6 separate regions of the Homo sapiens genome follow, and all the other regions are linked to region 1. The links are contacts of gene promoters, found by promoter capture Hi-C in blood cells and fetal thymus (Javierre and others, 2016). All regions are on one chromosome and are shown on one strand. The core of a region is centred on a gene start or on the middle of the fragment in contact, and the rest is flanking DNA. Distances in the headings are between cores, read along the strand shown.

The links. Contacts are between HindIII fragments. The CHiCAGO score rates a contact against its expected background, and 5 or more counts as called.
Region 2: a fragment that was not itself captured here is called in contact with the fragment with the promoter of HOXB5 in region 1 in 15 of 17 cell types (activated CD4 T cells, total CD8 T cells, megakaryocytes and 12 more); the score reaches 24.7 in activated CD4 T cells.
Region 3: a fragment that was not itself captured here is called in contact with the fragment with the promoter of HOXB5 in region 1 in 2 of 17 cell types (total B cells and naive B cells); the score reaches 8.9 in total B cells.
Region 4: the fragment with the promoter of SKAP1 here is called in contact with the fragment with the promoter of HOXB5 in region 1 in 7 of 17 cell types (erythroblasts, megakaryocytes, activated CD4 T cells and 4 more); the score reaches 10.1 in erythroblasts.
Region 5: a contact is called between a fragment that was not itself captured here and the fragment with the promoter of HOXB5 in region 1, in 2 of 17 cell types (activated CD4 T cells and naive CD4 T cells). The highest score is 7.1, in activated CD4 T cells.
Region 6: a contact is called between the fragment with the promoter of HOXB13 here and the fragment with the promoter of HOXB5 in region 1, in 2 of 17 cell types (naive B cells and total B cells). The highest score is 18.1, in naive B cells.

The regions. Positions count from the first base shown.
Region 1 is chr17:48,592,529-48,597,076 of GRCh38, forward strand. It overlaps HOXB5 (homeobox B5), which reads right to left and starts at 1,251. Exons shown (of 2, transcript NM_002147.4): 1 at 593-1,251. The coding sequence starts at 1,154. The region is part of intron 1 of HOXB-AS3 (HOXB cluster antisense RNA 3); the gene reads left to right. HOXB6 (homeobox B6) reads right to left here. Exons shown (of 4, transcript NM_018952.5): 4 at 3,223-4,144. The coding sequence ends at 3,885. RefSeq lists a silencer at 875-924 and enhancers at 1,181-1,688, 1,390-1,459, 1,689-2,194, 3,237-3,908, 3,966-4,135. The HindIII fragment of the contact is 5,828 bases long and covers 607-4,548 here.
Region 2 is chr17:48,345,449-48,349,996 of GRCh38, forward strand. SKAP1 (src kinase associated phosphoprotein 1) reads right to left here. Exons shown (of 13, transcript NM_003726.4): 4 at 457-558. Among named protein-coding and RNA genes, the nearest start is that of SKAP1-AS2, 53 kb to the left of the region's middle. The HindIII fragment of the contact is 3,432 bases long and covers 90-3,521 here.
Region 3 is chr17:48,753,396-48,757,943 of GRCh38, forward strand. It overlaps LOC105371812 (a long non-coding RNA gene), which reads left to right. Exons shown (of 2, transcript XR_007065830.1): 2 at 1-1,319. Among named protein-coding and RNA genes, the nearest start is that of HOXB13, 27 kb to the left of the region's middle. RefSeq lists enhancers at 1-139, 192-1,181. The HindIII fragment of the contact is 1,105 bases long and covers 1,305-2,409 here.
Region 4 is chr17:48,428,089-48,432,636 of GRCh38, forward strand. It overlaps SKAP1 (src kinase associated phosphoprotein 1), which reads right to left and starts at 2,126. Exons shown (of 13, transcript NM_003726.4): 1 at 1,987-2,126. The coding sequence starts at 2,032. RefSeq lists a silencer at 2,040-2,299. The HindIII fragment of the contact is 9,425 bases long and covers 528-4,548 here.
Region 5 is chr17:48,457,053-48,461,600 of GRCh38, forward strand. The region is part of intron 5 of LOC101927166 (a long non-coding RNA gene); the gene reads left to right. Among named protein-coding and RNA genes, the nearest start is that of SKAP1, 29 kb to the left of the region's middle. The HindIII fragment of the contact is 1,169 bases long and covers 2,108-3,276 here.
Region 6 is chr17:48,726,811-48,731,358 of GRCh38, forward strand. It overlaps HOXB13 (homeobox B13), which reads right to left and starts at 1,940. Exons shown (of 2, transcript NM_006361.6): 1 at 1,183-1,940; 2 at 1-233. The coding sequence starts at 1,783. The HindIII fragment of the contact is 3,706 bases long and covers 1-3,275 here.

The DNA.
Region 1 (4,548 bases), core at 1-2,500:
CGGGGGAGCAGGACCCAGGCGTCCCGGCACCCAGCTCACCACAGCTCCAATCCTCTCTACTCCAGATGCCCACATTCAAGCTCGATTTCTGCACCCCTTTCTACTGCATCCCCCACTTCTGCAGGCAGCCAGTGCGCCCGGCTTTGTCTCTTGCTCGCTCCTAGTGCCTCACCCTTGGCTGGGCTCAGGCGGCCGCTCGCCCCGGGAGGGAGGAGAGCGGTTGCACTTTTGCCCCGGAAAGCTCCTTTTACTGTTCACCCCTTCTTTGCTAGCGACAGTCTCAAAATTTCAGGGGTAAGCAGGACCCTTCCCCACATTATATGAACCCCATCCTTTATCCTAAAGCTGGTTCAGCTGCGCTAATAAAAACCTAAGCCGAAGCTGGAAACAAATTATTAAAAATACCCCCCTCTTAACAGAGAGACCCTTTTTGGCTCTGTCTACGAAGCTATGAGGCCCCTCTTAGATACTTCTCCCCCTTAGAAAAATGAATCTATATTTAGGGTAAAGCCAAGCTCTCCTTGTCCCCCCGATCCCACCCCAAAACGCAGAGAAGGAAAGCCGAGAAGACAAAAAAGAGAGAGAGAATTACCATGGCTGATGTGAAGCTTCCTCATCCAGGGGAATATTTGCGGAGTCTGCCCCTCGGGCGCGGCTGTGGAGGTGGCCATGGGCTCTGGCTGCGCCCGAGCTAGGCTGGGGCTGCTTAGCTGGCTTGCCGCTTCCTCAGGCTCCGAGGACGCGCTGGCCTCGTCTATTTCGGTGAAATTGGCGCTGGAGCTGGCTGAGGTCGCCTGGTCGGAGGGGGACGAAGCAGAGGGCTTGGCGCCGTGGCTGTCGCCGTTGGTGCAGGGCAGGGACTCGGGCGAGGACAGGGAGCAGCTCGAAGCCGCTTGCCTGAAGCGGGGCTCCTGGGCGGGCGCGGGGAAGGCGCGCGAGCTCTCGCCCACCGCCCCAAAGTGGCTGGAGGAGGCCGAGGAGCGGTTGACGCTGAGGTCCATCCCATTGTAATTGTAGCCGTAAGAGCCGGTGTGCATGGCAGCGGGATCCCTGTAAGAGCCGCTCAGAGAGCTGCCACTGCCATAATTTAGCAACTGATAGTCCGGGCCATTTGGATAACGCCCCGAGAAGGAGTTTACAAAGTACGAGCTCATTTGGGTGATTTTGGAGGGCTTGATTTGTGGATCGTGGTCGTTATAACCCTGTGCTTCACGATTTATGATGTATTAATGAATTATAGCGATGCACTGTACTTCGTTTTGCTATGTATGCGGCCAAATATGGGGGGGGGGTTGGAAGGGGGGTGGGGGGCGTTAGGGAATCACGTGCTTTTGTTGACCAGTCGTAAATTCTCGCTGATGACCTCAAGAGGTAATTCATGCTCTATGGTTACAAATAATGACGATCCGAGAATCGTTAGGGCCGATTCAATGCGAGCCTCCGAGAGAGGGGGAAAAAAGGAGAAGGGGGAGAAACAGAGAGAAGGTTGGCTTTGGCCTCTGAGCAGAGCGCGCCACCTCCCGGCGACCGACGGGAGCGCGGGCGTGAGACCGCCATGGCGGCGGGCGGCTGCCTCCCTGCTGGCTCCCTGCAGGCTCCCTGCAGTCGCCGGGAGAGAAAGAAACCCGGCCAAGGCTCAGCCACAGGGTTGAGCCTTTTAGAGCAGGGGTTGGGCTTTTTACCCACTTTCTTGTGGGTGGGGTTAGCCTCTCTATTTGGTTCTTTCTCCCTACATCATCATTGTCGTTATTATTTTAACTTTGGATGAGAAGATCAAAGATAGAGTTGCTTTTCCCTTTCTTGGGCTTTGCAAGTCTCCGAATTGGAGGCGGAAATGGGGGAAGGGTTGGAAGTTGTGTGTGAAAAACAATTATTGCAACGGGTTTTCCCCAGGAGCTTAGTCCGGCCTGCATCCTGGTGGAACTGCTGTTACCGGTCCACAGCGCCCAGGCCGAGCCGGCAGGGCTGGGCGGGAGGCTTGAAAAAGAAGGAGAAGCGTTCACTTCTCCTGGGCCACTTGGAAGTTCGAAATCCCCTTCCGGACCTCCTTGGTGGTCCTTAGCCCAGGCGTGGGGAGTGACAGAGCAGGACAGGGACCCCAGAAACCGAGCACAGCTGGGGCTAAGCGGCCTAGTTGCCGAAAAGACTGCAGCGGCCACCGCGTCTGCTGCTTAGTTTGAGTAGTAACATGTGTCTGAGAGTTTGTAAAGCGGGATCCCTTCCCCTCCTCCTCGGCTATTGCATTCGGAGGCCCCACTACAGGTCCCTCACTCGCAGCTAGGCAGTTTGAGAATTTGCCTGGTGGCAGCCGCCTTCCCGGAAAAGGGGTTCCAAGGACCCGCATGCTTTGCTGAGCACGCTGGGCGGCCAGAGACCGCCGCAGCTGGTCTCCTATTAGGAGGGGACTATTTTCTTTAAAAATAAGAAAGGAAGCGAGAGGGCGGAGGAATAAAGGAAAACAGTGACCGCAGCTTGCCTTCTGGGTGCCGGTGCAAGCAGAGAGAGAATGAGCCATTCTGGGTTGAGAGGATGACACTAAAAGCCCCATCACCTGGCCTCCTGCCCTGGGGTCTCCAAGGAGCAAGGGAAAGTTGTGGCCTTCGGCCTGTGCCTGGCTGGTGGCTTTACATTCCCCTACTTGAGGCTGATCTCCTACTTGAGGCTGATCTGCTACTTGAGGTGGGAAGGGGCACCTGGAGCCTTCAGCTGCAGGGTGAGAGATACCCAGTGGCCCCATTTTTCAGTCTCCAGAGCCACAGGCCAGGAGCGGAGGGCCAAGGCTGGCGAAAAAACCTGGCCATGTGGACGGGCCAAAGACCAGGGGTCGCTGCGAAGGTGAGGACAGAAAAGCGCTGCAGAGGCCCCCAGACTATGGCTCCGTCTCCGCCAGAGAGCTTTAGGGGCCTCAGTGGCTCCCTTAGTGCTGTGTATACACGAGGAAAGGCTAGAGAATGAGAGGGACACAGCACCTCTCCATCCCCCAAGTCTGCACGGGGAGAAGCGGCTGTGAGCCTCAGCACCAGGGAAACGCAGCGCTGGGGCCTGGGCAGGACTGATCGCTCCAGCCTTTATCTCAGCTGTAACTTCCCAGTCGAACAGGGCTCGCTTCGGCGGGCCAGGGCTCTCGCCTTTGCTGAAGAATTCTGGCTCAGGAAAGATGGAGAGGCTGGGGGTTGAGGAGAGAGGAAAAAATGGCAGGGGAGGATTGGAGGTGACCGAGCGTCGAGTTTTCACATCTTTATTATTGTTGTTGTTGTTGTTATTATTATTATTATTATCATCATCATCATCATCATCATCATCGAAGTATTTCACGTCCAGAGCTAAGACAAGACTACAAACACAACACATAGAAAATTAATAAAATAGAACTTTGTTTTCTTCTGAGGCTCCTCTTCTTACTTCTAGGTAGTATGTGCTCCTTCCAGTGGCTTTGGGGAGGGGGTGGGAGAGACGACAGGTCTGGGATCAGGGAGTCTTCAAGGCCCCCGCTGAGGGGACAGCGAATCTACCATTGAACCGTGCACGGGGGACATGGACAAAATGAGACGCGACAGGGACAAGAGCATTTTGCTCTGCTTCCAGGAAACATCAAGTGAGTCCGCTCCTCAGTTCTCACCAGGAAGCCTGATCAGGCTGAGGCGAGTTCCTCGGGAAGGAAGGGCGCGCGGGATGCTGGGTGGGCTCGAGTAGTGAGGCCTCAGAGCACCCGCCGGGAGCTGTGCGGGCGGGGGCGTCCAGGAGAGCGCTGGGCCCCGCCTGTCTGCGCCGGAGAGCAGGTCTCCTGGCTCCCCCACCCGAGAGCCTTCCTTCCCGGGTCTCTCTGACGCCCTCGGCTCCCCACAGGCCTTTCCCCTCGCGTCCTCCCTCCCTTTCCAGCACCTTCACTCGGCCTGTTTTTCTTCCTCCTCCTCGGCACTGAGCTGAGACGCGCTGAGCAGTTTGCTCTCCTTTTTCCACTTCATGCGTCGGTTCTGGAACCATATCTTGATCTGCCTCTCCGTCAGGCACAGGGCGTGCGCGATCTCGATGCGCCGCCGCCGCGTCAGGTAGCGATTGTAGTGAAACTCCTTCTCCAGCTCCAGCGTCTGGTAACGTGTGTATGTCTGGCGGCCTCGCCGGCCGCTGGGCCCAAAGGAGGAACCTGTTACGCAGAGTGGAGATGCTGAGGCCTGCGGTCACCGGGCCCAGGACCCCCTCCCCTAGTCGACCCTCGAACACAGACTCCAGCCAGTACCGGGATGCCCTCTATTCTGCCGGCTCCCTTCCCCCGTTTCGCACTCCTCCAGCGCCCCCTCCAGATTCCCTCCTAGTCTCCTAGGCCTGTGCCGTCTGTCTAGACTCTAGATGGGGGAGGGGAGGAGCAGTTTGAACTCCCACCTGAGCCTGGGGGGAGGGGCTGGTCAGGTGTGTCTCTTCCTAGTTGCATCTTGTCTTTCCCTCCCTTTCCATCCATCTTGTTCCCACCCCCCGTCATCCCCCCAACCCAATGATAAATCCAGGCCGTTAATCCGTAATGACGTAGATCGATCCATAGTCCACATTAAC
Region 2 (4,548 bases), core at 556-3,055, 250 kb before region 1:
GTGAAATGGTATCTTATTATATACTATGATGAGCTCAAGGGTCTCAAATGATCCACAGAAAATTAATAATCCAACAATCATTAAATAAAAGCTTCAATTCTCATGTAAATCAGTGAAGCTAAAAAATCCAAAAGAATGGTATAAACTAGGCCCTGAAATCTTAAAATGCCCTCTTAGCTATTGAGCTACGGTTTTTATAAAAAGATCAATAATGATGTCTTCCTGTTCCAATATGGAATTAGTGTCTCCCTAAGTACATTAACTTCAGAAGTATTGAATTACCAAGGAGGATCAGCACCACAATGAAACAAATAGTTGTTCTTTGCAAACTAGTGATTACCAGTACAGAAAACCCACCAAAGGCTGCTAGATACAAAAATGACAAAAGGCAAAGATGTCAGGCCAGAAGATAATGAAGTATGGTAGTCACCCAAAATCCAGAAGGATAACACTCACCCTCATCCTGATAATCTGACAAAAAGGGTGCATCGGATGTGAGGGACAGGCCAAGAGTCCCGCTGTGATTATCATCAGAGCTGTCCTGTCCAATGTCTCCCCCTGAGGGACAAAAAAGACAGAAAATAAGGTTAATCTTTGGGCATCCTTATAAAAGGATACATCCTTATAAAAGGATCTATGTATGATCTCTTCCAGTATTCGAAAAAAAAGTGTATCTTTTACTGGATGATGAACATGGCCACTATCCATTAACATATAGGAAACAGTTAAATAGGTTCAAGAACTGACTTACCTGGATGAAAAATTTTCCACTCAAGTAACTCTCTCACTAAAACTTAGGAACTGTTAGCTTATAGTGGGAATACCTCTTGCCACCAGAAAGAAATTTCTCTATCATACTTAAAATAAAAACATAGCTATATAAATTTATATTCAGCCAGGCATGGTGGGTCACGCCTGTAATCCTAGCACTTTGGGAGGCCCAGGCAGGCGGATCACCTGAGGGCAGGAGTTCAAGATCAGCCTGGCCAATATGGTGAAACCCTCTCTCCACTAAAAATACAAAAATTAGCAGGGTGTGGTGGTGGGCGCCTGTAATCCCAGCTACTTGGGAGGCTAGGGCAGGAGAATCGCTTGAACCCGGGGGGTAGAGGTTGCAGTGAGCCAAGATTGCACCATTGCACTCCGGCCTGGGTGACAACAGCGAGACTCCATCTAAAAAAAAAAAGAATTAAATTTATATTCATATATACTATGTCTCCAATAATTACAACCTTTACCCTGCATGCCTCTATTTCAAATGAAATAGGACTGACCCAAAGGTTTAACCTTCTATACATAATATAATATAGCAAGGTCAATAGTCTTTCTCTGAAAAGTAAGAGAAGTATTATAAAAATAGAGAAAACCTAGACTTTGCTGGACTGTATTCCTATTTGTTCTGCAACGTTAACAAAGTTCTTTCTTTGTAATTCTAGTTTACAGCCTAGGCAACCGACCTCTTAGGAATTCTAAAAGCCCTAAGAAGATAATATTTGTCCTGTAAAATGGCTTTGATAAAAGGTAATGTATATACAATACTGAATTATGCAATTAATGCTAATCTCTTTTGTGTGTTTTCAATATACATTGGATTGTATTCTGTAGAAGTGACTGATGTTATTATGATACTTTAAAAGGTTCAGACAGAAGATGTTAGCTCATTCAGAAACCGGAAGAAAAGGCTCTGTATTGCAAATGGCTTTCCTTAAAATCCCCCAAATAGAGGTACAGTCTGCTAATAAAAGGACACTGACAGCTGCTTATTTCATTTCACAAACATGAAAATAGGATTTTCAACTGAATTTAATATTATCTCAAATACTAATTTCCAAAGGAAATCACCAATGCTAATCTCAGTAAATACTGTAGAGTTTTGGCCTTGGATTTCAACTAGGGAGCTGTGAAACCAAACAACCTACATAGAATCTGTATTGCCTCACTTTAAAGGTTTATTTCCTACAATTAAACTAGAAAGCCAGGGAGGTTATAAAATGATAAAAAGAGAATGGCTGTAGCTTTCTCTTTCCATAAATTAGATGATCATATCTAGACTCTTCTTCAAATGCTGTATGGTAGGTAGATGTCCATAACTGAGTTGAACACCTACAAATATAGGACTTTAGAAATAAACTATAAAGTTTATTATGAAAAAGAGAAATAAAAATTGTAGAAAACTCACACAATAGTCATTGGCCAAAGCCAGAAGAAATACTCTCTTTTATTAGTTTACTTATCAGTATACAAAGTTTATAGCTATGCTTAAAGCATCACTGTGTAATTTCCATAGTAACCAGAAAAATTCTCAAATACTGGACTGAGGATTAAAATGCTCAAATTTTACATCACTGGAAGTCCACTAAAATTATATTATCAACACAATCTAAATGGACTGCCTGGCTAGTAACCTGAAAGTGAGCTGCAAGGTTAAATGGAATTTTTATTTTAAGCCAAATAAAAATCCTTAAAAATAAAAAAAGTACTGGAATTGCCAAGCAAAATTTAACTTTTGTAGGATATACTGAACATTATGTATAAACTATTATTCTGGACTTAAAGTTCTCTGCTTGCTTCAAAAATGTGGCAAATCCACCATTAAAGAAAAAGAACCTAGCCAGGCACAGTGGCTCACACCTATAATCCCAGCACTTTGGGAGGCCAAGGCAGGTGGATGGCTTGAGCCTAGGAGTTCAAGACCAGCCTGGGCAACATGACAATACCCCATCTCTACAAAAAGTAGAAAAATTAGCCAGGCATGGTGGCTTGTGCCTGTGGTCCTAGCTACTTGAGAGGCTGAGACATGGGGGGATCGTTTGAGCCAAGGAGGTAAAAGCTGCAGTGAGCCATGACTGTGCCACTGCACTCCAACCTAGACAACAGAGTGAGCCCTGCCTCAAAAAAAAAAAAAAAGAAAAGAAAGAAAAGAAGAAAGAAAAAAAGTACATGCTCACATTCTAAGTGTTTTAAAAAACATGCAGATCAGGAAGGGCTTTTTTTTTTAGTGAACTTTTTATTTTGGAATAATTTTAGATTTATGTAAGTGTTGCAAAGATAGTACAGAGTTCCTACATACCCTTCACCCAGTTTCCCCCAATGTCAACTTCTTACATAATTGAGGTCTATCTGCCAAAACCAATAAATTAACATTGGTATATTGCTATTAACTAAACTACAGACTCTATTTGGATTTCACAAGTTTTCCATTAATGTACTTTTTCTGTTTTGGGATCCAATCCAGGGTATCACATTGCCTTCACAGTCTCAGTTTTTAAAGTCTTACCCAAAACACCTGCCTGGATTTGGCACTTGCTTTCCTAACTTCAGATGGAAAAGTCACTTCCACGTGATTCCTATGGTTTCTGAGTATAGTCACCCAAGGTGTGCTTTCAACAGCCACCCCTGGTGTCAAACATGAGACAGTTCCTCTGTAAAGTACACAACGACATAGATATACAACTCAATGCAGCAAAACAGAGCCTAGGTCAGTAGTACAAATGGTTGTGGTGCGGGAACATTTAGAAATAAGCTTTACACCCAAGTGCAATTAGTTCCTGATGATGGAGATGTTGTTATAAGTGTTTTTAGTGTCATATCAAGTGACCCAGTTCCCTTGGGCACACACAGAAACAAGGCTATAATACCATATAAATATACACTCCCATGTAATTGAAATGATTACAACTACTGAGGATGCATGGGTGAAAAGTTTTATAGAAGAACAGCAATTATTGTGGTCATTTTGGATTTGTTTAAGAACATCATTTTTCTTTAAAACATAACTGTACGTGTTCTCTGGATTTGTCTATAGCTCTGACAATTGCAGTTCTAAATGGCCACAACTGTAGTCCAGTGGGATCAGACATAAATGATCACAAACTATAGTGACAGACATTTCCACTCAGCAGCTCTACAATTAGGGCTTAGAACTCTATCTGCTTAGAGTGGATTTCTCACAAGCAAGACCCCTTGCCACTGGAGACACATTTTCCCACTGCAACTCCCTCAGAATCAATATATTTCTATACAGATATATATTCTAACACATCATATCTCCATTAATCACATCCACTACCTTCAGTCCTTTCTCTTTGTATTTCTAAACAAGATCTAGTGGAACTATATCAAGGGTTCACCTGCTATTAGCAGGTAATTTGCTCCTGTAGCCTAAGTGTCATAAGAATTGGGCGTTAGATACACTCCTTGGTATATTCAATGGCAGGTTCTCCACCCAGTACATGTTGAGGGGCCCATAAGCAGGATGATTTCTCTATTCTTTTCTGAGAGTCAAACTCAATTTCATTCATGCTCCACAGAGTGATAAGTTGTGAATTTCTGAGGGTTGGAGCAGAAAGATAAAGCAGCTTTGTGTCAGGTGTAAGGTAATTATTTCCTAGGGTTTCTGTGCTATTTGTTTTTATTCCCTGTGTTTTCATTAACAGTTAATGAGTTTTCCCCCTTAATTCTGAAACAATAGTCTTGGCCACTAGAAGTTGGCTTTTTCTGCCACAGATTCAACCAGCTGTTGCTGCTCCATAAACTTTATGGAGAAGT
Region 3 (4,548 bases), core at 607-3,106, 160 kb after region 1:
TCCCTAGCACAAGAGTGGAAATCCATACTCCTTGGGGAGGGACTTTGTCACTGAACCTTAAGAAAATGGTTACTGGACTGAGCTTGGTTACTTATGCCTGTAATCCTGACGTTTTGGTAGATGGAAGTGGGAGCATCGATTGAGGCCAGGAGTTCTAGCCTAGGCAATGTAGTGAGACTCTCATCGAAAAGAAAATAAAAAAAAGAAGAAAGAATCTCGTGGCTGTCATTTTTAATGTTGCTGGTGTGCAGGGAGGCTGTTTTGACTCTTATTTCCATTCTTGGGCCACCGGCAGAGCAGGGCAAAGCTATGAGGTTACATAGACCTGGCTTAGACCCCAGTCCCATTCCCCAGCAGCTTCAGGCCCAAGCAACGGTCTCCATCTCCCTGAACACAGTCTCCTTATAGGTAAAATAACTGCAGAGTTGATGCTGGAATTAAATCAATGCAGTGGCGAGCCCAGCGCTGCAGAGCCCCGTGCTTAGTGACCAAAATAATGTCCCGCCTGCCTCATCTTCCTCTCGGATTTTTGCCAAGGCCAAACTGCGCGTGTCCCAGAAAAAAACCCTCGGACACTTGGCCTCTGCCCTGTCTCAGCCGAGTGACTAGGATGACTGGGAAGTGAATCACAGGAAAATCACCCAAGCCCACTCTTCTCCACAGCCGGTGAGCAGAAGGAAGGAAGCAAAGAAGGAAGGGAGGAAGGGAAGAAGGGAGAGTTCAGTTCCCTTTCGTCGTTCACACAGTGGTCCTCCACACCAGGAAACCTAAGGGCTCTGTGGAGGGCCAGGTGCCGTGGCAGCAACACTCCTCAGGGCCTGTTTCAGCACCCCATTTACGTGGCACATGAAAAATTCAGGATGAACGCCCTGGCTGAAAGCTCTTCCTGGGTTTGGGACATCAGAAGACCTTCCCGGGATGGGCTCTTGTCTCTGCAGTAGCTATGACCTGCACATAAACCTGTTTCCTACACTGTAAAATTGGCGTAACCACCATTCCCTCCCAGTCTTTCTCTGGAGTCCTAATGGGAACAGTGACGGAATGAAAGTGACCACGCTGGAACCCGAAGCGCTGTTCCCCTCCGTGGCTTCACACTGATCTCCACACTAGAATTCCGTGTCTGCAGTTCAAGTTCAAACTACTGTGGTCGGGGAAGGGCTACAGAGATCTCGCTTGGCCGTGGAGTCACCGGCCCCGTCCAGTCTTGCTTGGGACACATACTGGTTTACACTCTCTCGGGTTCAGTTTCCTCATCTGTAAATGGGGCTCGTATCCCCCTCATAAAGTGGTTTGGGGGATAATAAAGCTTGTAAAAGCGCTTTGCCCCAGTGCTTGGCACATAATACGCGCTACGTTAACAATGTCGCGTACACGCCCGAACCGGAGGAACCCCATTCCACGCTCCTTCTGGAACCGAATTCACCTCTGAGGCTTTGGGGCTTCAGAGCCGGAGCCGCTTGGGCAAAACCAGCAGAACAGCGAGAGGGAACGGGCTGGTCTAGCCCTGCCCTGAGCATTTCTACTGAGACCCCCGGTCCTGCTTCTTCCAGCCTCTGCTGGATTTCTCTCCGACCCCTCTGGAGCGAAGCCCTTTGGCCCTGCGTTGCATGCGGCACGGTGCGGGTTCGGGCTCTGCGCTGGAGCCGGGATGCCCTCCGGCGGAGGGTGCGCGTAGGCGGCGCCTGGGCGTGAGCCCCGCCTGCAAGGCTCAGCGTCGGGGAAGCACTTTTCTCGTCGACCCGGGGTCTTTTTCCGCCAAGGAGCTCGGGGCTCAAGAACTCGGGACTGGGCTGTGGGCGGGGCATGGTTTTCCTCTCTGGGCGTCCTAATCTCCAATTTCAGGCAAATTCGCTAGGAAGAACCTTCCCGAGCGCGCCTTCTCCAACAGGACCTCCAAGCCAGCCTCACGCACGCAGGCCTGGCTCTCTCCTGCAGAATCCCCACCTGCCCTATAACTACCCACTTCAGATATGGGGGAATGGAGGAGATATTCCAATCACGCCATCTACCTACAGTTTCCACGGCCCCTTCTGTTGAATGGTATTTTCCTTTAGGGTCCCTAGAAGCAGAGCAAATGAAAAGGCCAGGGGGAAAAAAAAAAAAAAAAGAAAGAACCGGTGAATTGGCTCTGAGCCCAATAAACGGTTCCTCTTTCCTTCTCCGGTCCTTTCCCTTCCAACAGAGCGATTGAGAAATCATTTCAATAATCAGCAAATCGGCTGGGAAATGGAGAACCAGAAGGGAATGTCCTATCCAACAGCGCTTTTTCTTCTCTCAATAGAAGCCCAGTCTTTCATTTAGATATGAATATAGCTACTGTGCATTTCTCCATTAATAAATATAAATTTCCAAACTAGGTGGTGAGGGATATGAATTTCCATGGTACATTGGGCCCTAGAGACACCAAGAAGCTTCAGGTCATAAGGGGGTCTATTCAGGCTATGTCCAAGCACAACCAAATTATGGCATTAAAAACAAGAGGTCTTGATTCAGATCTTTCACGTTTTAATAACAGAGGGGGATGCTGCTGATATAGAAAAGTGATTGAAAATATTTGTAAACATATACTTCTCACTGGACCTCCAGTCATGTTGGTGGGTGTGGTAGACAGAATCAAGTACGTCAACTAGCTGTTTTCTGGTTTAGAAACAAAAAATACCCCCAGCCCCACCCCCACTCTGGAGTCTTTGCTTCTCAACTACGAAATGGAAAAAAAAGAACTCAAGTCCCATTTAGACTGTGGGAGCTCAGCCCATGAAGGGACTGTGGGAATTGACATGGAGAGTTTGGGGTGGAGAGGTGGAAGGGTGGAGGAAATGAGATCGGCAGCAGACACTGAGTCAGAGGCCTGAGACTAAGGCCTGGCTCTGTGTCCTTGATATCCCCAAGCCTCAGTGTTCACATCTATAAGATGAGGATAATATTGATCTCACAGAACTGCTGTGAAGAATCAACCACATAATATATGTGACGATGGTTTTTCATTATCAGCCTTTCCTTGGCCTGGACCAAATTGAAAGGAGACTGTGGGGCCAGGCAAGGTGGCTTGGATCATGCCTGTAATACTAGCGCTTTAGGAGGCTGAGGCAGGAAGATCCCTTGAGACCAGGAGTTTGAGACCAGCCTCAGCAACATAGTGAGACTCTATATCTTAAAAATAAAATAAAATAAAATAAAATAAAATAAAATAAAATAAAATAAAATTAGCCAGACATGGTGGTGCATGCCTGTAGTCCCAGCTCCTCAGTGGGGAGAGTTGGGAGGATCACTGAGCCCAGGAGGTCAATGCTGCAGTGAACCATGATCTAGACACTGCACTCCAGCCTGGGTGACAAAGCAAGACCCCGTAAAAAAAAAAAGAAAGAATGAGGAAGAAAGGAAAAGAGAAAAAAAGAAAAGAAAAGAGACCGTGGCAAAGAAGGCAAGGGTCCAGCTTGGGCCCAGCCCAGGGATGGGTATGAGCATCCCCATGGCTACTTGATGCCCTGTCACGTGGGTTCAGCTGGCTTAGTCTCACCCTCTGCCAGATCCAGGAGGAAGTGAGAATCCATTACAGTGGGCCTGTCTCAGCTCCTGTTTGCTTTGGCCACAGCGTGATGGTGTCTTGCTGGCTTTGCCAACAGGATTTAGGTGTTTGCTCTCCCGCCTGGCATGGCTGCTAAGGCAGCTGGCATTCTGCTCCTGCTTATCATGCTGGCTGAGACTTCCTGCTGCTGCTGCTTCCCCTTTCTCAGATGGATGGGGTCCTATTTTATTATCATTGTCACAAGACTCCTATGCTTGAGAAAGCAGGGTGGTGAAAAGAGGCCACAGACTTTCCCTTTCAAATGGCTCCCCAAGAAGTACATACTCAAGGACTAAGATGAATCAGGAAGTACGCCAGGAAAAGAAATGAGACAGAGAGCCAGAAAAAACAGGCACTAACCCTAGATCTTTAAAGGACTTGCTTTGCTTTCCACACTTCTTTCCTCATGCTTTCTGAGGACAGTAGTAGATAGCGGGAGTAAAGGGGAAGGGAGCCCCTTGCTGAAGGTCACCCCACACCAGCCAGAGCCCACGGTTGGAGAGTCTTGGAGGAGAGTCTTGGAGGAAACATGATTATCAGGTGCCTGATGGGAAGAACATGTGCTCAGAATAATCACATCCCCTCCCATAGCCAAGGCAACTCCCAGAACCTCCAGCCACCTCCCCAGCACAGTGTGCATTCAGAAGACATGAAATCCCCTCCACATGACACACTACCTGCTTGGCTTTCCAGGCTGCTAGTGAATAACTTACAGTCATGGCTGGAGAATGCAAAATAATTGAAAGCAATGCTTAGTAAATTGCAGTTTCAAGGTCTTCATTGCCTTCCTAACAATTTGCAAAACTCATTTTATTGCTTTTTTAGATTCCTCGAATTGAAATACCACTGCATGCTGTAATTAAGCTAAGTGACATGCCAGCTGTAAAGGCAAGGGTTGTGAATGATTACATTCAGTTCATGTAATCATACAGGATGAGTGTGGGGAGGGAGCCTACAACAGCTGCCGGTCTGCCTTGCTTACA
Region 4 (4,548 bases), core at 876-3,375, 160 kb before region 1:
TTTAAAAAACATATCTTCAAACATTTTTCAATAGAATTACTGGATGAATCACACTTTACATTTTTTTCTCTACTTCAGATTCAAGTTCTAATTGCAAACTTAAAAAAAAAAGCCTTAAAGAAATACATTAACCAACGAAGCTCCTTATAATTTGGTTTCAGACTCCTCCATATATTTTAAAGACCTGAGCACCAACAGAGATTGTTAAGATACAGCAAGCTTGATACAGAAGTATGCGACATGCAATTAATCTCCATTCATACCCCGCTCTACTTGTCAGCAAACAAAGGTTCTGCTTTAGAAGGAGATCTGAAGACTTCAATTAAAAACAGTCAGCTAACAAGAAAATAATCTAAGCTAAAGGAAGGTGGCAGGTGCAGAAATGAGTTGTTTACCAAAGTGTCAGTTTTGAACAATGAAGAACTGCACATCAAAAATGCTGAAGGAATGGATTTCATTGCAAGCCTCTGAAAATAAAAAGGAATTTTCTACCAAGCCTAGACACAAAACTGAAGTATAGTTTAATAAGCTTATAAAATAGGTTTCCTCTCATCAAATGACAGATACCAATAAAAAGAATCAGTTTATATATTTCAATGCAAGGGCAGAGTTAAACTTTTTGCCACAGTCCCTTCTTTCCTAGAAACCAAAGACAATTACAGCCTTCCTTCACAAGCCTAATATTAAACCAACAACAGAGGGAAAGGCTGGATTGTTTCTTCTTAGACACCCAGATAATTCTCTTTTACCCTGCAAATAGTTTTCTACCCCCAAAATTTAGATTTATTCTGATCGTAAGTAAAACGGATTTTGGAAACCTCACCTCAAAAGAAATATCTAGCTGACAGCTTTTACATAGAAGCAATCCAGAATGGAAATAGTGCTACAGACAGAGACCAAAAGGACTTGCCAAATATTTGATTAGGAGGCATTTATACCGAGATAACAAGGTAATGGAGATATAAAACCAATTAAATTGAGAGAAACTGAAAAAAAATACTGCTTGCCAAAAATATGACCTGCCCAAAGCAGGCCGTCTGTTAAATATGTGTCAACTATGTCAACTTAGATGCCAAAAGGCTTAATTCTGAATAGTTTCCTCCTGGGAGCCTTATGCGACTGCAGATTCCAGGCCTCTGTCCTCCCTGGAAGGTTAGTTACAGGAAAGCAAGTAAAAGTGACTTCCACCACGAAACCCAGCAGATGAAACTGCCCGTTAGCAACGTCTCTTTGTGACATCTCTTTGGAGTGTTGGCAGTGTGTGTTGAGTGTTGACGGGGATGGCCGGAACTCTTTAAACCACCGCTTAGACACTGTAGTTGGAAGGTGAACACACCACAATGGGAGTTGGAAGGTGAACACACCACAATGGGGGCACTTCTAGAAAAGGAGGAAATCCCATACTGAGAATGAGCCTGCCTTGGGGTGGGTGAGACCCCTAGACGTCTGCAGGGTGATAAAGGGAGGGCTGGGGTTTTCGCACTGACAAAAACTCACGTCAACCACCTGGCCTTGGCCCATGGGGATCCCATGAGCCCCTCGCAGCCCCCTGGAGAGCCTCGGGGACCTCTAAGCAGGAAGGTTTGGGGTCTTCTGTGAGAGGTGAGGAAGTCGTGGCTGGGGAAGGAGGGGGACGGGAAACCCTACAGATGTAGGGCAGTCCTTTGGAGAAAGGGACAGGTCGGAGACCAGGCAAGGTGGCATGGGGGACCAAGAACCTGGCCTGAGGACTTTAGAAGCCGGGGAGGTGAAGTGGAGGCGTGGAGGTGCCTCAAGGCAAAAGAAGATGTGGGACTCCAGGGAGTGAAAGGGGCCCTGAGGTGAGAGGATGGAAAGCTGGCTCTAGGGAGTTGAGGGCTCTAGAAGCCTTAAGGTTCTAGAAGGAGGTGAGTGACGAAGCCGTAAAGAAAGCCTGGCCGTGGGAGGCCTGGTGTCCCCTTTCGGCCTTCGGCTCAGCACTGGAGGGGGCCTGCGCCAGGGCGTTACCTTCCAGGAGCCAACGGATCTCCTCAGGGAGGGCGGCGGCCTGCATTTGGCTGGGCGGGAGAGAGGCGGGACGGGGCGCGGGCCCTGGTCGGGAGGCGGACGGGCTGGAAGGCGACCCGGCTGCACCGCGAGGCACCTGTACCTCAGCCGCGGTCGCCGCCCGCCCAGCCCGGCCGCGGGGCGGGGCCGTGGGTCCCCGGGCGCGTCAGGAAGTGGCGCGGGCGGCAGGCGGGGACCGGAACGGGGCGCGGGGCGTGGGTGCACGTGGCGCTCACGCCGGAGCCCCACGGTAGAAGGATTGGGGGTGCCGGAAGCACCGCACCGTGCGAGGCCAAAGGTGCGCCCCTCCAGCACCCACCAAAACAAAAGACTTCACAAGGCTCAAAGGACCCACGGCTTTGGACACTCCATCCTAAGCACCGAACAGTTGACCTCACGGTGGCAGATTTGAAAGACCACGGGGTGCCTGAAGTAGGGTGCAGGGAGGCAGAATCCAAGGAAGAGATCCCCGTCAAGCATAGCACCCCTCAATTGCCGGTCCAGTTCACATCTCCATCCCCAGAAAAGAGGGCAAAACTTCGCTCTTTGGGAAGCCACAATGTTGAAAGGAAATGATTAATTCCCAATAAGCAATATAAGGACACCAACATTTGGGAGAATCGCGGCAGCGTGGCAGCAAGGGACACAGGAAACCAAACTGTGCTGTTCTCCCTCAGGATGGAAAGGCCCTGAGGAAAGGAAGGGGTAACACAGGGAGAAAGCTGAGGGAGAGGAGAACAGAGCCCTTTCCCTCCAGGAGCTGCGGAAGGGAGGAAAGTGAAGGACAAAATCACACGGTCTCATTCAAGGGACAGTTGGTGTCAGTGTCCTGGTTGTGACATGGTACTGTAATAGTGCCAGATGTTACCCTTGGGGGAAACTGGGTAAAGGTAGACAGAGTTCCTCTATTATTTCTGAAACTCTCTGTGAATCTATAATTCTCAAAATAAAGAGGTTTTTTAAGTACAATAGGTCAACTGCCATGAAAAAAGTATAAAGTGCTATGGTTGATAAAAGAAGGGAGCTGAATACCAGAAAAGGAGGGAAGAGGCCAGGCATTGTGGCTCACACCTGTAATCACAGCACTTTGGGAGGCTGAAGCAGGAGGATCACTTGAGCCCAGGAATCTGAGGTTACAGCCAACTATGATCACCCCAGTGTACCCCAGCCTGGGCAACAGAGCAAGACCCTGTCTCTTAAAAAAGAAAGAAAATAAAAAGAAGTGCCAGTGTGCATGTGAGTGTTTAAAGGTGCATGTGGTGTTTGAGATGGGCTCTGAAAAACACACCAGACTTTGAAGGGGCAGAGGACTTTCCAGGTGGAAGGACCAGAGTAAAGAAAGATGGAAGAGCCCTCACCAGCTTGAGGAATAGTTAGTAGCCCTCTTTTACTGGATGTTGTAGAAAGACTATGGTTGTCAAGATAAACTGCAGCTCTACTGTGAAGGGACTTGAAAGTCAGAATAGGAATGTTGAACTTAATTGAGAGGGCACTGGGGAGCCATTGACAATTTTTGAGATTGGGAATGACCTAACCAGAGCTCCGGGGTGGTATGTGGCCTCACACATCTCCACCTCTGCCTTTTTCCTTCTTTGTAAAAAATGGCATTTCTATTCTCAGACTCAACCTACAGAATATGTAGAAAAGATTAGGAGTGGTGGGAAAAGACACAGGGGGAAGTGGGTAAAATGGTTTTTACAACAGCCATAAGGGGAATAATGATGGACTCAATCTAGCAGACGGGGCAAGAGCAGTAAGAAGAAACCATCGAGAAGGATGAGTGTGATAAAAGTGCCTGCCTCCTTGTACTGTTTCCCATCCAGAGATACAGCCTCAAAGATGAGGGTGTGATCCTTTAAGGAGTACAGTGCATCCTGCCATCTGAAAAGCAGTGGTGCATTGGTTTCAGTGTCACATGACCCACCTACAAGCTGCAGTAAATTGGGGTGAGGGGACAGAGGCTGGCATGAGCCTCTCTGGGGTATCTGGCTCCTGCTCATCCTCCTTCCTGCCCTGAGAAAGTATAGTAATGGGTGGCTGGGCACAGTGGCTCACGCCTATAATCCCAGCACTTTGGGAGGCCAAGGCAGGCGGATCACGAGGTCAGGAGTTTGAGGTCAGCCTGACCAATATAGTGAAACCCCGTCTCTACTAATAATACAAAAATTAGCTGGGCATGGTGGTGCACGCCTGTAATCCCAGCTACTCGGGTGGCTGAGGCAGGAGAATCACATGAACCCGGGGGGCGGAGGTTGCAGTGAGCCGAGATCAGGCCATTGCACTCTAGCCTGGGTGACAGGGCAAGACTCCATCTCAAAAAAAAGAAAGAAAGAAAGAAAGAAAGTATAGCAATGGGCAGACTACCCCTTTCAGGCTTGGGATCAAGTACCAGGTACCCCCATGGCATTTTTACCAACTTCACCACTTCACCTATAAAATTGTAGCTGCTCTAGAATCATTTTGAAGTACTTATGAGGCATACTAAAAAGCAAGGAAAGATACATGGGAACTGTCTGTGCTATC
Region 5 (4,548 bases), core at 1,442-3,941, 130 kb before region 1:
TCTGATCTCCAAGGAGGTTTCCAGCATCTTTCATTAAGCACTCGTGTACCAACTTGTCATTTTAACCGAGCAGCAAAGAAACTCCCACTCAACTGCCTACCTCAGGTGCTGGGAGTGCAATCCTCGGAGGAGTCTTTCTGGGTTGCAGGTGCAGGGGAGGCGCCCAGGTGATGGGGGTGGGGTGCAGCGAGAAATGGATTTAAAGCCACTCCAGGAAGGAAATCGGATCCCAAAACCTGGTTGTCCTGGGCACAGGCTTCAGGTGACTGCAGAAGATTCCTCTCTAGCAATCCTGAACTGAGCAGAGATGTGAAAACTTACTTCTTTCCGCTTTCTCGAAGCGCTCCAGGACGCAGGTGGCACGCTCAACGCGGGGAGGCGCCACCTACAGGACAGAGGAAGACCTGCAGCTTGGGCTTGAGATTTCAACAGTCTGTGGCGGGGGCTGATGAGGGCGGCCCCTCCTCCTCCTGGAGTAATAATAGTCCCTGACATTTATCGAATGCTCTTCTCGTGCCAGACACTGTCCTGAGCACTTGACATGTATTAATGATTTTAAACCTCACAACAACCCTATTAGGTAGGTGTTATTTTCATCTTCATTTTATGGAATAGAAAACCACAGTTCCAGGAGAGAGAGTAATTTGCCCCAAGTCACCCAGTTAGGAAGTGGGAAGTGGAGACCCCGACCCTGAGTAGGCACTAAGGCGGGTGTGGTGGGATGGTTAGAGTCGGGCGCAACTCTACTCATGGTTCACAGCATTCAACTCTATGGGCCCTCAATTCTGCAGCTTTGGTTTACCATTTTTTGAGACTCGCTTACTCGTCTGGAAAGGAAATCTTTGCTAAGGTAATCATAACCTTGTATAATTTTTAAAGAGATGGAAAATGACAAACATCGCATATTCTCACTTATTTGTGGGATCTAAGAAAACAATTGAACTCCTGGAGATAGTGGAAGGATGGTTACCAGAGGCTGGGTAGTGGGGGGCCTGAGGGGGAGGTAGGGTGGTTAATGGGCACAAAAAAAAAAAAAATAGAAAAAACGAATAGGACCTAATATTTGATAGTACAACAGGGGGACTATGGTCAATAATACTTTAATTGTACATTTTGAAACAACTAAGAGTATAATTGTATTGTTTGTAACACAAAGGATAAATGCTTGAGGGGATGGATACCCATTTTCCATGATATAATTCTTACACATTGCATGCCTGTACCAAAATATCTCATGTGCCTCATAAGTGTATACACCTACTATTTACCCACAAACATTTTTGAAAAACCAAGGCGAAAAAGTGGGCACAGTGGGGCAGGGATGCTGGAGATTGTGTATCTCTCATCAGTTCATTTTTTCAGTTATATAGATGAGTATGAGAGAGGTAAGGGACCCAACCACGTGCACAATCTCAGTGACAGCGCAAGAACTGGAACCCAGATTTCCTCACTCCCAGCCCAGTGCTTTCCCCCCGTGCTACATTCATTCTTTAATCATCCATTGACAGGATGGATTCTGTATGTGGGATGGAAGGTAATCACACACAGTGTGGCTTCAGAGGCTCCAGGCCCACCCTCTGACCAAAATATACATTTCCTTTTTTTTTTTTTTTTTTTTTGAGACAGGGTTTTGCTCTGTTGCCCAGGCTGGAGTACAGTGACGCAATCTCGGCTCACTGCAACCTCCACCTCTGGCTTCAAGCAATTCTTCTGCCTCAGCCTCCTGAGTAGCAGGGATTACAGGCACACTCTACCACACCCAGTTAATTTTTGTATTTTTAGTAGAGATGGGGTTTCGCCATGTTGGCCAGGCTGGTCTCAAACTCCTGGCCTTTAGTGATCCGCCTGCCTCGACCTCCCAAAGTTCTGGGATTACAGGTGTGAACCACCATGCCCGGCTCAAAACATACTTTAAAAAAAACCTGGTGGCTGTTGCGTAAAATTCCACCATTAGTGGCTCATTTTATTCACTAAGACTTTGATCCTATCCACTTAGGACCAGTAAGGCTTTTAACTGTTGGCCATCATTTCATGTGTATGTAATTGAGTTCTAAAGCAGCGCTACTCAAAGTGTGGTCCACAGACAGCAGCATCAGTATCATCTGCAAGCTTGTTAGAAACGCAGGTCATGGCTTTCACCCAGACCTACTGAGTCAGAATTGCCCTAGTTCTCAAACTTCTGTGTATGTGCTTAACTTCTCATCTGAAGAGCTTATGAAAACACAATTTCCTGAGACAACTGTTCCCCACCTCAAACCCAGAGATTCTGATTCAGCAAGTCTGGGGAATGCACCCCAAAATTTGCATTTCTAACAGGCTCTCAGGTGATGCACCTGAGACCAGCTACTGCTGGTCTGGGGACTATACTTTCAGTAGGACCTAAGGAGTTCCTGATAACAGATATTGGGGAGGGAGAAGAGGGAGAATGAGCACACTGAGGTAGAAGAAGGAAAGGTTATCACCAAGGGTGCAAAGGGTACAGAATATGAAGCCTTGGAGTCAAAAACTGCTGAGGGTGTGAGTGCACAATCACGTCTTTCCATTTGAATACATTCAAATATTTAGATCCTTAAGTGATTCAATACAATGCATGCATGTTTGTTAGCTGGATTTACTGAGCCTATGGTAAAATCTGCTCTTGCATCACCTTTTGCTGAGCCCTGCCTGTCTCAGTTACAAATGAAAATCTTTCCAGTCCTCTCTGACCATCAGTTAGTTTTCCAATTTCATTCCAGAGTTAACTGCACTGTAGCAGCAGACAAAACTGGCCCGATGGCAGGAATACTGTTCCCCGATGGTATCAGAGCCATCTGTATTTATGTTTGCTGTGTGACTGTCACTTGTATACAATCATGCAGAGACTCTGATATTAAGACTTGGCCTGGAAATCACCCCCATGGCACAGCTCTGGTGGAAAAGGAAAAGGGGATTCAGTGGCAACCAGATATCAAACACAAATTACATTGCCCTTGTACCAAAACAGGCATCTTTAAGAAATCATGTCTTCTGGTCTTCCTTTGCTATACTTCAGGTAATATGGTACCCAGAGGAACCCAGAGAGATAACAACCTCTTCTATTTGTAAAGACCACTTGTGAAGGAAACTCCATAACCTCCCTGTGGTGGAGTGTATTATTGCTCAGCAAACATTCATTCTTCTCTATTTCCCTCCGTTGGGGGAGCAAACTTCCCCACTCCATTGATGATGGGTCTAGCCATGTGACTTGTTTTAGCCAATGGAATGTAAACAGAGGCTTTAACTCTACTTGCTTGGTTAAGCTTGGTCTCTTGCACCTCTACCCTTTGCCACGAGAAGAGCATGCCCTTGTCACTTCGGCCTGAGTCCCAGAATGAGAAGTTACATGGAGCAGACCTGAACAAGATTCACAACCTGAACAGAATCACTGCAGCCAATCCACAAACCTGTGAGCAAAAAATAAATGTTATAAATTTCTGAGATTTTAGATTAGTTGTTATGCAGCATTATTTTAGTAAAGTTGACTGATACACTCCCTCAGGTACCTGTTCCACTGAACTTTTGCTGCAAAGTTCTTCATTGTGTCTAACCTAAATCCGTCATACATTAATGTAAAGATCTATCTCATTTGTGGTCCAAATGAGGGATCACTAGATTACATCTTTGATTCTAAATGTCCAAATCTAGCTTGAATTGTTTACTATATATTTAGATGAATAAAATAGAGGTGCATTCAGGGAATTATTTGCATTTACAAAGTATCATCTATGGTTTTCCTTATTGGAGCTATTAGAAGGTGGGTCCTTAAGAAGTGATCGTCTTCAGGAACCAGAAAAGTAGCAATGGGAGAGATGAGAGTTTGGAAGCCTAATTAAAATATTATAGAACTGAGCCAGGTGTGGTGGCTCACACCTGTAATCCCAGCACTTTGGGAGGCCGAGGCAGGCAGATCATGAGGTCAGGAGTTTGAGACCAGCCTGGCCAACATAGTGAAACCCTGTCTCTACTAAAACTACAAAAAATTAGCCAGGTGTGGTGGTGCACACCTGTAATCCCAGCTACTTGGGAGACTGAGGCAGGAGAATCTCTTGAGCCCAGGAGGCAGAGGTTGCAGTGAGCCAAGATCGCACTATTGCACTACAGCCTGGGTAACAGCAAGATTCAGCCTTGAGGAAAAAAAAAAGTCATAGAACTGCCTTATTTTCTCTTATCTTTCTTTCCTAGCAGTTTATAAATTATTTATTTCCTAGCAATTTGCAATTATTTTATTTGCCTATTTTCTTTCTTTTTATTTGTCTGTCTCCCCCATTAGAAAGTGTTTCCATAAAGGCAGGAACAATGTTTGTCATATTCACAACTTTATCCTCCAGTACTCAGCAAACTCTGGCATGTAGCAGTCCCAAAAAAAAAAAAAAAAAAAAAAAATTCAGTAGAGACAGGGTTTCACCATGTTGGCCAGGCTGGTCTCAAACTCCTGGCTTCAGGTGATCCACCCTTTTCAACCTCCCAAAGTGCTGGGATTACAGGCGTGAGCCACTGTGCCTGGCCAAAAAAAAATTGTTAAATAAATTC
Region 6 (4,548 bases), core at 690-3,189, 130 kb after region 1:
CACCTTGGCGAGAACCTTCTTCTCTTTGACCCGGCGGTTCTGAAACCAGATGGTAATCTGGCGCTCCGAGAGGCTGGTGGCTGCCGAGATCTTGCGCCTCTTGTCCTTGGTGATGAACTTGTTAGCCGCATACTCCCGCTCCAGCTCCCGCAACTGCCCCTTGCTGTACGGAATGCGTTTCTTGCGGCCGCGACGAAAGGCGCAGGCGTCAGGAGGGTGCTGCCCGCTGGAGTCTGCGCGGCGTGAAAGGGAGGGAGGAAAAGGCATGGTCAGATACCCACCCATGCAGACCCAGGCCTTGCAAGCCCCAAGCTAAGTCATCTCACAGGTGCACACAGGTCACCCTACAGGCGCACGTGCAATCCTGTTCCTCCAAAGCATACCAGGACAGCACCCTGGCTTCCGGCTTGTTCTCTCACCACCGCTCAGCCTTGGCTCCTGAAGGCCACCCTCACCCATCACTGCTCTCACACCCGCGAATCTGCAAACATACCCACACACCACACACAGTCAGGCCTTTGCCCACCATCACATACGTCCAGTCTTCATGCATTTCCAGACTCTTGGCCACTCTTTTAGATTCTACAGGCAAATTCTGGAAACACGTTTCTGCCCCCACTCCCAATACATGCGCATACACACACACACACACACATTAACCCATCCCAGTGCACACACATATGTCACGGCTGCAGGAAACCTAAATTTTTCTTTGGAAATTGGAAAACTCATCTAATAGAAAGTGAGAGGTTGTATTCTCTACAGTACATCCAATACCTTTTTACCCATCTCCCACACCCACTCCCCACGCACCGAATTGAGAGTTATTTAGCTTTTGTGTAGAATTAGTTTGGAATTGTGCTGGGTAGGGACACCCTGATCCCCACTCAACAGCAAAGAGATCTAAACCTCTCAGACATGTTGAAAGGCTGGTCCCAGGGCCTCCTGGAGAAGTGAGGTGGCCTTCAGGCTTCAGATAGCACCCAGCTCAGGCCCCTCACACTGACCTCCATCCAGGCCCTCCAGCTACTCAGACCTCCTTCAGAGTCCTAATAACCAAGGGAGGAGCACCAAGCTCATCCTCACCAGCTCCAAGTCTCCCTCCTCCTCCTCCCAGGGAAATGCCATTGGGACCCACAACCCCAGGCTCAGAGACAAGGGGACCCAGGGTAATAGAGGTACCTGCAAATGCTGCCTTCCAAAAGGGACCTGGTGGGTTCTGTTCTCCCTGGCAACACATCTGGCTGTTCCAGCCACCAGCGAGAGCCCAAGACTGGTAACTGTCCACAGGCAACAGGGAGTCATGTCGCGGTTCTCCAGGAGCACCCAGAGTCTGCACCACAGACACGTCCAGGTAACTGGCCATAGGCTGGTAGGTTCCCGGATATCCCGGATAGAAGGCAAACTCAGTGGGGCGGCTGGGGTACTCTTCCCCGGCCGTGGGAGTCTCCGCGGGGTACGCGGCCAGGGTGGCTGCCTGGGCACAGGGTTTCAGCGAGCTCCGGGACACTCGGCAGGAGTAGTACCCGCCTCCAAAGTAACCATAAGGCACGGGAGCTGGGGACGTCCCCTGGGGCACCCCAGGGCATGGGTGGCATTGCTTTGGCGGCTCCGCCGAGCCTGGCAGATCCAAGGGGGCATAGTTGACAGCAGGCATCAGCGTAGGCGCCGCTGGGTGGCTGGTCAGAGGGGAGTGGGCGACCAGATTCCGCCCCCCTCCCGCTCCCAGCAAGCCTTCGATATCCTTGGCTCCATCCAAGGTGGCATAATTGCCGGGCTCCATGGAGCCGAGGGTCGGCTCATGAGGTGCGGGGGCGGGGAATCTAGGGGGCACCCAGCTCGCTCTCCCCACCCAGGCCGGGGGAATCCAAAGCGTTTTAAATCGCTCCCAGCTCGCAAGTCGCCTGCATTCGCTCAGCACGGCCGTCTTGACGCAAGAGACGCAGGGGCCCGGGCACGCGCGCTGATTGGCTGCGGCCTGGGGGAGAGAAGCTAATAAAATCCTAAAGGCAGAAACTGCGAAAATACTTTACCCCAGCTTATTCTCTCTCTCTCTCTCTCTCTTTCTCTCTCTCTCTCTCTCTCTCTCTCTCTCTGTCTCTGTCTCTCTCTCTCGCTCTCTCGCTCTTTCTCTCCTCTCTCTCTTCTCCCTCTCTCTCTTCTTTTCCCTCTCCACTCCTCTCTCTCTCATTCCACTTAAAAACAACAAGAGAGAAAAGGAAGGAGGTGTCCTTTCGCTGCTTTCCAGTTTGCAGAGTCTCATTTACACGTCCGGGGGGAGGGGAGGCGTGGTGGGCGGAGGAAGAGGGGACGAGGAGCCGGGCCCCACCTCCTTCTCCTCCTCTCCCTCCCTAGCTTTCTGTCTCCTGCGCTTTGACAGGTTTAACGAGAGAATAAAAAGCTCTCTCTATAAAGTGTCCATCTCCTGGGGGGGAAGGGGAGTCGGGGGTGGGGCTGGGAGGCCGCTCCCGGCCTCAGAGGAGAACCCGGGAATGCGCCTGTGTAAGAGGAGGCTGGGAAATGGGGGTTAATAGGTATTTCTGGCAGCCCCTGGCTTTGGGTCCTGGGTACTAGCACCCCAGTTCATTCCCGGTACCCTTCCTGTCCCAGATGTCCTGGAATGAGCTGCTCCGGGCCCCAGGGAGGTGCCCTGGACGCCCCTTACCCAGGGACTCGCTACTGCCCAGAATGCTCTGGAGGCCCTGATTCGGGTGAGGCTGAGGGAAGAGGCGGGAGACACGAACGTAGACGTAGAAGACATGCGATCTGGATGGAACCCAGGACACTCCACTTCCGGACCTGAAGGGGAAATGGAGCCTCTAGAGTGGCCTGTGGAAGGGTCTGGATTTCCCTTTAAGTAAAGACATACGGAGGGACGGAGACCCACAGGACTTGAGGGAGGGACGGGGAGAGGGAGAGATGAGACTCAGGGACAGCAACACAAAGAGGGAAAGAGAGAAGCTGACAGAGCGGATGGGACAAAATCTTGTAAAATCCTGAAGTGTCAGTCAGAAAAGAGAAAGAAGAGAGGCACTTTCCCCCTTTTTTGGGATCTAAAGAAGTCTGAGGAAGCCAAGCCTGGCTGACTGCCAGAAACCAGCTGCGGGAGTTCTGGACCCCAAGAATACAGACGCCTGTGTGGAGATGCCAGTCTCCCTGCCCTGCAGTCCTCTCCCTATGGTCTGCAAGGGGCCCAGGAAACTGTCCCTGATACTGGCATACTCCCACACAAGCTGAGTACCCAGAAAGCCCAAGACCCCTATCTGCCTCCTGCAAGCTTTAAACTTCCTTACAAGGAAAAGGGAATGGAAGGGGAAACCCCAGCCACTGGCAGAATTGCTTGAGGCCCCTCTGTTGGGGCCTAATGTGCAGTGCAATTCAGAAGAATCAAACGGTTTGTTTCACAAATCTGTCTTTAGAGGTTTTCCGCTTCCTTTACTACCCCTCCCAAATCAAATCCTTCTGTCTGCTTTTTCTAGAACTCCCAGTTTTTCTGGAGAAGACAGGAATGTTTCCATTCTACACGAGGGTCTTGACAATTATATGGAATGGCTTACCCTAAACTCTGGGCAGACTCAATCATAGCCTCTCACCAACCTGACCTTGAACTTGAGCCACTTTGTGGGAAAGGGCCCACAGGCAGTAGTGTACATCACTCCTAATGAGCATTGCTATAATTGAAGACACCAAGCACGAAATCTTCACTAGATCGCATTTGAAAACAATATGGAAGAAAAGGGAGGAGATGTCTCTTCAGTGCTTTCCAGTTTCTCACCAGAGTTTCTTGCTTGTCTAATTATGAACTGCAGAAATATCCAGACTTTTACCTAAAGACTAAGAATTTTTCACCAATTTTTACTTGGTAGATGATAGATATGTAGGGCATGTCCACAGTTTTAGTTTCCACTAGGCAAACACCCACACATGCACATTTATTCATCCTTGTACAGTAGAGGCATTAATAGATCCCTAAATTTAAAAAATAATAATAGTCATAGTCATGCCCTATGACCCAGCAATTCCATTCCTGGGCATAAACCCAACAGAAATGAACCTTTATATCCATCAAAAGTCATGTACTAGTAGGTCCACAGCAGCTTTATCTGTAGTTGCTCAAAGCCACCCATGGCAGCGCACGCCTGTAATCCTAGCTACTAATCCTAGTGGAGGTGGGAAGATCGCTTGAGCCCCGGTGTTCAAGACTAGCCTGGGGCCAGGCACAGTGGCTCAGGTCTGTAATCCCAGCACTTTGGGAGGCCAAGGCAGGTGGATCACTTGAGGTCAGGAGTTCGAGACCAGACTGGCTAACATGGTGAAACTCTCTCTATACTAAAACTACAAAAAAAAAAAAAAAAAAAGCCAATTGTGGTGGTGGACACCTATAACCCCAGCTACTCAGGAGGCTGAGGCAGGAGAATCGCTTGAATTTGGAAGGCAGAGTTTGCAGTGAGCCGAGATCGTGCCACTGCACTCCAGCCTGGGTGACAGAGCAAGACTCCATCTCAAAAAAAAAAAAAAAAAAAAAAAAAAAAAAAAAAACCAGCCTGG